2 separate regions of the Homo sapiens genome follow, and region 2 is linked to region 1. The links are contacts of gene promoters, found by promoter capture Hi-C in human tissues and cell types (Jung and others, 2019). All regions are on one chromosome and are shown on one strand. The core of a region is centred on a gene start or on the middle of the fragment in contact, and the rest is flanking DNA. Distances in the headings are between cores, read along the strand shown.

Region 1 (4,110 bases), core at 1,068-3,567:
ATTTAGAAGTATAGGAATTAGGTATGGCGCGGTGGCTCATGCCTGTAATCTCAGCACTTTGGGAGGCTGAGGTGGGTGGATCACTTGAGGCCAGGAGTTTGAGACCAGCCTGGCCAACATGGTGAAACCCCATCTCTACTAAAAATACAAAAATTAGCTGGGCGTGGTGGCAAGCACGTGTAGTCCCACCTACTCGGGAGGCTGAGGCAGGAGAATCGCTTGAACCCAGGAGGCGGAGGCTGCAGTGAGCCAAGATCGTATCACTGCACTCAGCCTCAGTGTAGGCTGAGTGATAAAGCGAGACTCCGTCTCAAAAAAAAAAAAAAAAAGGAAAGGAATTATTCTCATGTATACAATAGTAGGAAACAACCTATAAAGCTTTTGAGAATCTTATAATTCACTGTGTACCTCCCTCTGTTTCATATTTTCGCAATTGAACTATAGAGCCTAGGCCTAGGTCTTAAGACTTTTCTTGTAACCTTCAGAGTGCCCAGCACTGGGATTGACATATACCAGTTAGACGGATTTTTTTTTCCATAAACCAGGCTCAAACTCTTCTAAACCAAAATCAACATATTCTGAGTGCCAATCTTGGGTAAGGCACTCTATTATTTGTCATGAAGGATTCAGAGGAAAATGTGATCTACCACACTCAACAGCAGGCCTCTTATCCTCTCCAGCTTAATGCATTTTACCAGTTAAGGACTACCCTGATGCTGAGATTGTGTTTCTTTCCCCAAATCAAATGTCACTCTCTAAGGGTCATCTGTATAATTAAATGCTTTTAATTCTATATATCAAATGATAACTTTTGTGAAAGTAATTTAAACACACTTGAAACATCATATAAAATATTACTACAAGACTTAACCGTAAATGTGGCTCCCACCCCCATAACATCTATACAATATAACCAAAGAGCTAGATTCCAGATTATCAAGAAACTTCTAAATTTTGAACCCATGCAGCAGAATTGTATTCCTTTACATTGTTGGCTCGACTTACAAATGTGCTGTGGAATAATTATCCTCAAATACAATTTTCAGTACTGATTACATAGCTGCCTAAAAGAAAACTGTTAGCCCCTTCCATTTTATGTGAAACCAATGTCTAAAGCGCTCTTGACTCTTCAACCCCACATTTTCCCCACCCTCATCCCTCCTCAATCCCCAGCCCCCACTCATCACATCCACTAGACCTGAACTTTGAACTCAATCATAATTCTTTGTGCCTCTGCTCAAGCCCTTCTTCCTGCCTGGAATACCCTCTTTTCAGTCCCGGCTAATTACATCTACCATCCCATTCCAAGTGGCCGCTGGAAACTCACTTCCTTATGTTCTATGATTTCTTTCACAATTTACACTTTTTTTGTTTTGTTTTGTTTTGTTTGGGGGGGGGGGTTGTTTTTCTGAGAGGGAGTCTTGCTCTGTTGCCCAGGCTGGAGTGCAGTGGCGCGATCTCAGCTCACCACAACCTCCACCTCATGGGTTCAACCGATTCTCCTGCCTCAGCATCCCGAGTAGCTGGGACTACAGGCGCGCGCCGCCACGCCTGGCTAATTTTTTGTGTTTTTGGTAGAGACGGGGTTTCACTATGTTGGCCGGGCTGGTCTCGAACTCCTGACCTCGTGATCCGCCCGCCAAACATTCTATGTGCCAGAAACTTGTATGTAACTTTGCATAGTTCTTGTATTATGTCTCCCCAATTTTGAGTGTTTTCTCTGGTCTCTACTCAGCCCTTGCTCACAGTCTCACTAGGACCCTGGCTAGCTTGAACACGGTCAGAAGGATCACCTTAGATTTCTGCTGGCACAGTATTTTCCATAAATTAATCTCCTGATTGAACCGTAGTCCTATAGTAGTTATCTTTGGATGAAAACCTAATGCAGCTCGAGGAGGAAGTGGAGTGCCTGTGATCAGAGGGCTGGACAAAAGCCCATAGGGCGTCTCTGGAGCCCTGGGGGAACTGTCCCCAGGCAGGCACTCTCAGGGCCCAGGAACAGGGCGGGACAAGTCCGACTCACCTGTGAGGTAAGGACGGGGCCAAGACCCGGAACCGAAAAGCAGGTCACGATAGCGCTGGAAGGCCTCGTCGAGGACTGAGCAGCCGGGCTGCGCGGCCGAGCTGACATCGTACTGGAATTGAAAGTTGTTCGGGTAAAGGACGTAGCGCTGGTCGGAGGTTTGGAAGTTCTGAGGCCAGGGCCAGAGGGCCGTCGCCCGTCCTGCGAACGCTGCCGCCAGCAGCAGCGAAAACCAAAGCCTGGAGCTTGTCATGGCCCGCTGGTCTCCCCTCTCGGAGGGGGCTGGCCACGTGAGACCCTGGTCAGGTGAGCGGCGCCCCCGTGACTTATCGGCGAATCACGTGACCAGAGGCGGCTCTGCGCCTGCGACCCCAGGAGGACCCACACCCTGCCCTTTCACTTCCGGCCTGGACCTGAGGCTCCTGCTACGTGCAGCGGATTGTGCCGGGCGTCGGCAACTGCTCGGCTCGCCAGACTGTTCACGGGCCCAGTAGAGCAGTAAATAACCGGCCACCCCTGCGGCCGTGCCGGCCGTGATGGAACTAGACAGCTCACCCGACTCGAGAAGAACGGGGTGGGGAGGCGAGGACGCAGGGCGACCTGGAGAAGAAAGTTTCCCAGATGGCTCTAGGGTGAATCTTGAATGTTGTGATGCAGCTCGCCAGGCCTACGGGGAGGTAAAGGACTTGCCAGGCTGAAGTAACTTCAGAAGCAGAAAAACGGAGGATTAAAACCACAAGTCGTTGTGATGTGAAATTTCGTGGGGCAAGAAAGGGCCGGAAGTAGGTAGTCTGCACGGCTCTGCTAGAGAGAGGATCACAAGATCACACAAATGTGATCTACTTATGACTGGAAAAAATGTGTACTTTCAGAGCCAGCTTGAGGCATTCCATTGCCTCCAATATGAGCTCTTCCCTTCAAGATTGACTATAAATCTCTTAGTTACAACTCACATCCCCTTTCCCCAGACAAAACCCCACATAGCCCGGTGTGTATTTACTGAAAGCAGTAAGATATTGCTGGGGCTTTGGGTGCAAGATGGAGAGTGCTCAGAGATAATGACAGGGGCCTGGTCCTGCAGGGCCTTACGTAGAAAGTCAAGGAATTTATTCTCTGAGCAATTGAAAATCATCCCGAAAGATCTGCATTTTAGAAATACCATGTTGAGTAGTTGCATAAGAAACCAGTTAGGAGGCCCCTTTTTATTGGAGGTAGAGAATAATGAGAGACTGAACTACAGAAGTGGGGAAGGAAGACAGCTGTAGATCCAAGAAATAGTATCCGGAAGAGAGGCTTGAGAAGTGATCAAGGAGAATTCCACAGTTATCAGAGACCCTGTCTTCCTTGTTCACCACTATATTACCAGAACATAATACAAATAATGCTATTGTTATTGGGTGGCATTATTTGGTTAGTAGGTACTTTTTAAAATTTTTAAATTTAATTTTAGTATTAAAATACATGTAAAGATCAGGAAAATGAACTTTTAAAAATAAAGGGCTTTCACTGGGCATGATAACACATCCCTGTAGTCCCAGCTACTCCCAGCTATTCAGGAGGCTGAGGCGGCAGGATCACTTGAACCAAGGAGTTCAAGTTTAGCCTGGGCAGTATAGTGAAACCCTTTCTCAAAAACAAATAAAGGGCTACTGAAATAATGATAATTTATATTCAGGTCGTAGGTACCTAATTACTAGTTACACATACATGGCTTTGATGGGAAATCAAAGAAACATTCTGACAATACAGAGATTCATCAAGCAATTTGTCTTTGAAAGTTGATTATTCAAAAACAGAGCTTGTAGCAAAAGAAGCAGAAATTAGATCCCACAGTCATCAAGTTTCAGATCCTAAGGCTTGCATTCTTACACCAATTTCTTCTTTGCTTAAATCTTAATTTTCATCAGCATTAATTAAGTGTCTGGGTACTCTGCCAGTCAGGAGAGATGTTACCAAAGGTACAGGATTTGAGAAGTATTGTCAGAAGAGCCAAGTTCATAATCAGGCCCACAGGATCAATAATTTGGGGGAGTGTTTAGAGCAGTTTCAAAGATGAGAGCAGTAGATCAAAGTAGAATTTCAGGACT
Region 2 (3,848 bases), core at 1,027-3,526, 180 kb before region 1:
CAAAATGTATGCCTATACATGAATATCATCTATTAGATCTGTCACTGCAGTCCTGACTATTAGAAAGTTCTAATAGTCAATTAGCTGGGCGTGGTGGCTCACGCCTGTAATCCCAGCACTTTGGGAGGCCAAGGCGGGAGGATCACAAGGTCAGGAGATCGAGACCATCCTGGCTAACATGGTGAAACCCCGTGTCTACTAAAAAAAATACAAAAAAATAGCCGGGCGTGGTGGCAGGCGCCTGTAGTCGCAGCTACTCAGGAGGCTGAGGCAGGAGAATGGTGTGAACCTGGGAGGCGGAGCTTGCAGTGAGCCGAGATTGCACCACTGCACTCCAGCCTGGGCGACAGAGTGAGATTCTGTCTAAAAAAAAAAAGGTTCTTCCCAATACCTAAATGGACCACCTTCTAGCTAATAATCCTTCACCAAGGAACAAACCTTTGTCCTCATGTTCCTTCCTTAATAAAACTGGATCTCCACTGCTGGTGTGACCAGGGCAAAGTCTGCTCCACAACTCTCTGTTCTCTTGTGTCTTCTTATATTGCAAGATTCATTAACTTTTCCAGTTTCTGTTTTCACATGGGGACACTTGGTTATTTCCCATTCTCCCAAGTCTTCCATCATTATGGACGCAGATTGACAATCTAATGTAAATTACATGCCTCTGAGGTCCAGGCAAGAGTTGGAGGGTGGATCTGTGAACTCCTGGAACTTTGGGCAAAATTGTTGGGTCTGAACAAAGGAGTATGTTTCTGGGAAGAGAGCATTTCACTTTTATTAGACTCTCAACGTAGCCTATGACCCCCAAATGATAGAAAATACTCCTCTAATTAAGCAGCTCCTTGGGGAAATGGCTGATTCCGGATCTGAGGAAATGCAAAAAGGAGCCTAAAACATCTAATCATACCAGAAACTAAAGAAGTCATTGAAGCCTGGAGTCATGGCTCAAGAACTCAGGAACCAACTTAAAGATGGGACCATTTGAGCATCAATAAGAATGGATTAAAACACATCAAATATGTTTAAATCCATGAGATTATAATACACCGAAATGACTCATTGGCCACCTTTGGTGGCTACTAGAGCCCATACCACGATTTTGAAAACTAAGAAATAAGAGTCAAGTATTTATTCTGCCTTTCTAGTACTGGCTACACCTCAGGATAAGCAAATGGTTGAAGAGGGAACACATCTTTTTTTTTTTTAAATGGAGTTTCACTCTTGTTGCCCAGGCTGGAGTGCAATGGTGTGATCTCAGCTCAATGCAACCTCCGCCTCCCGAGTTCAAGCGATTCTCCTGCCTCAACCTCCTGAGTAGCTGGGATTACAGGTGCCCGCCACCATGCCCAGCTAATTTTTGTATTTTTTTTAGTAGAGACAGGGTTTCACCATGTTGGCCAGGCTGGTCTCAAACTCCTGACCTCAGGTGATCCGCCTGCCTTGGCCTCCCAAAGTGCTGGGATTACAGGCAGGACCCACCGTGCCCAGCTGGGAACACATCTTTTTATAGAAAGAGTCTCCTAATAAATGATGAAAAACTGGTAGGATTAGACTAATACCATATTTCAGTCCCTAATTAAATAATGGGTCTGCATGAAATAATCATCAATGGCTGCTAACATTCTTCAAAGAGAAATAACTGATATTATATACTTCTTGAAGCACACAATACCATCAGAATCTGACCGAGACTGTAGGTCCAACTCCCAATGTATAGGAAATACATAAATCAAAGGAATGGTTTAAACAACATCAACACATCAGAAAAAGTTATAGAAAACATAGCCTGTTTTTTTCAACAAATAATTTGCAAGGAAAAAAGAAAAGGAAGAAAAGAGGAAACCATAGACTAAAGAGATAAAGATATAGAGATTCAAAATGGCAACTCTTTGACTTTAGTCAAAGTATAAACTTCATTTGAATCCTTATTAAATGGTACAAAGACATTTATGAGACAATGGAGGGAATGTAAATGCTGACTAGCTATCTGATTAAGAAGTTACTGCCATTTTTTAGATGTAATAATGATATTGTAGAAATATTTTTTAAAGGCTCTTTTATAGATATACATTGAAATATTTTTGGATAAAATAATATAATAGCTACAATTTGCTTCAGAATAATCCAGGAGACAGGGAGAAGGGAGGTATATATGAAACAAACTTTACCCATGACTTGATTATTGCTAAAACCAGGAGATGGGTACATGCCACTTATTATACTATTCTCTCTCCTTTTGTATATGTTTGAAATTTTCCACAATAAAAAGTTAGCAATTCAGAATATAAACATGTTTCAACTTGTCTGGTAATGAAGGAAGCCCAATAGGAATACCAATTCTGAAGTACTGTCACTGGGTTATTTTAAAATAAAATTTCTAAGTAATCCTTCAAAAATTCAAAATGTATTTTAAAATAGCATTTTGTGTGGCCTGAGTGATTACTGGCAGGTTTTGAGTAATCTGATTAATTCTAACACATATTAGAAATATCTAAACTTTTTTCCTACAGAAGAGAGAAAAAAAATCCTAATAATCAGTCACAGTTGTTTGGTCAGGCATACTGCCCACGCTGCTGTGCGGTGGGTAAGGCAATGAAATGAAATACCAGCAGGATCTCGACAATTAACTACTATACCATTGATGTGCCATGTACAGATGTTAGGAGGAAAAGCAATTCATGTTTGATTTAAACTAATTCTTCAAGTGATCTTTACTTTAGGTTAAAAAGAAATAGAGCCAGCCAAAAACTGCTTAAAAATTAACAATGTAATTACAAACATCACTGAGGAAACACTAATTTATGACAAGGCTTTAAAGATTGGTTCAGTCGGCCAGGTGCAGTGGCTAATGCCTGTAATCCCAGCACTTTGGGAGGCCAAGGTGGGCGGATCACCTGAGGTCAGGAGTTCAAGACCAGTCTGACCAACATGCAGAAACCCCATCTCTACTAAAAATACAAAAAATTAGTCGGGCGTGGTGGCACATGACTGTAATCCCAGCTACTCGGAAGGCTGAGGCAGGAGAATCGCTTGAACCTGGGAGGCGGAGTTTGCAGTGAGCTGATATCGTGCCATTGCACTCTAGCCTGGGCAACAAGAGTGACAGTTCGTCTCAAAAATAAATAAATAAATAGATAAATAAATAAATAAATAAAGATTGGTTCAGTCGCCACAGGTTATTAAAACACGCCTCCAGTCCTAAATGATGACCAATCATTTCTTTTTTTTTTTTCATTCTTGTTGCCCAGGCTGGAGTGCAAATGGTGTGATCTTGGCTCACTGCAACCTCTGCCTCCCGGGTTCAAGCGATTTTCCTGCCTCAGCCTCCCTAGTAGCTGAAATTACAGGTGCCCGCCACCACGCCCAGCAAATTTTTTGTATTTTTAGTAGAGACAGGGTTTCACTATGTTGGCCAGGCTGGCCTCAAACTCCTGACCTCAGGCGATCCACCCGCCTCAGCCCCCCAAAGTGCTGGGATTACAGGCGTGAGCCACCACACCCGGCTTGTGCATTTCTTTTTTTTTTTTCGAGACGCAGTCTTGCTCTGTCGCCCAGGCTGGAGTACAGTGGCGTGATCTCTGCTCACTGCAAGCTCCGCCTCCCAGGTTCACGCCAGTCTCCTGCCACAGCCTCCCGAGTAGCTGGGACTACAGGCGCCCACCACCATGCCTGGCTAATTTTTTTTCTGTATTTTTAGTAGAGATGGGGTTTCGCCCTGTTAGCCAGGATGGTCTCGATCTCCTGACCTCGTGATCCGCCCGCCTCAGCCTCCCAAAGTGCTGGGATTACAGGTGTGAGCCAACGCGCCAGGCCGTGCATTTCTAAACTAATAAAAATGTATAGTAGTG

The links. The method cuts DNA at HindIII sites, captures the fragments that hold promoters and counts their contacts. A contact is called where the count stands out against the background at its distance.
Region 2: a fragment that was not itself captured here is called in contact with the fragment with the promoter of HEXA in region 1 in 1 of the 25 tissues and cell types used here (aorta).

The regions. Positions count from the first base shown.
Region 1 is chr15:72,373,697-72,377,806 of GRCh38, forward strand. HEXA (hexosaminidase subunit alpha) reads right to left here and starts at 2,318. Exons shown (of 14, transcript NM_000520.6): 1 at 2,024-2,318. The coding sequence starts at 2,276. HEXA-AS1 (HEXA antisense RNA 1) reads left to right here and starts at 2,417. Exons shown (of 1, transcript NR_027262.1): 1 at 2,417-4,110. RefSeq lists enhancers at 1,554-2,109, 2,110-2,666, 2,558-2,697, 3,028-3,077. The HindIII fragment of the contact is 13,358 bases long and covers 1-4,110 here.
Region 2 is chr15:72,190,013-72,193,860 of GRCh38, forward strand. All of the region lies in intron 1 of GRAMD2A (GRAM domain containing 2A), which reads right to left. Among named protein-coding and RNA genes, the nearest start is that of GRAMD2A, 5.8 kb to the right of the region's middle. RefSeq lists an enhancer at 3,610-3,848. The HindIII fragment of the contact is 5,455 bases long and covers 1-3,848 here.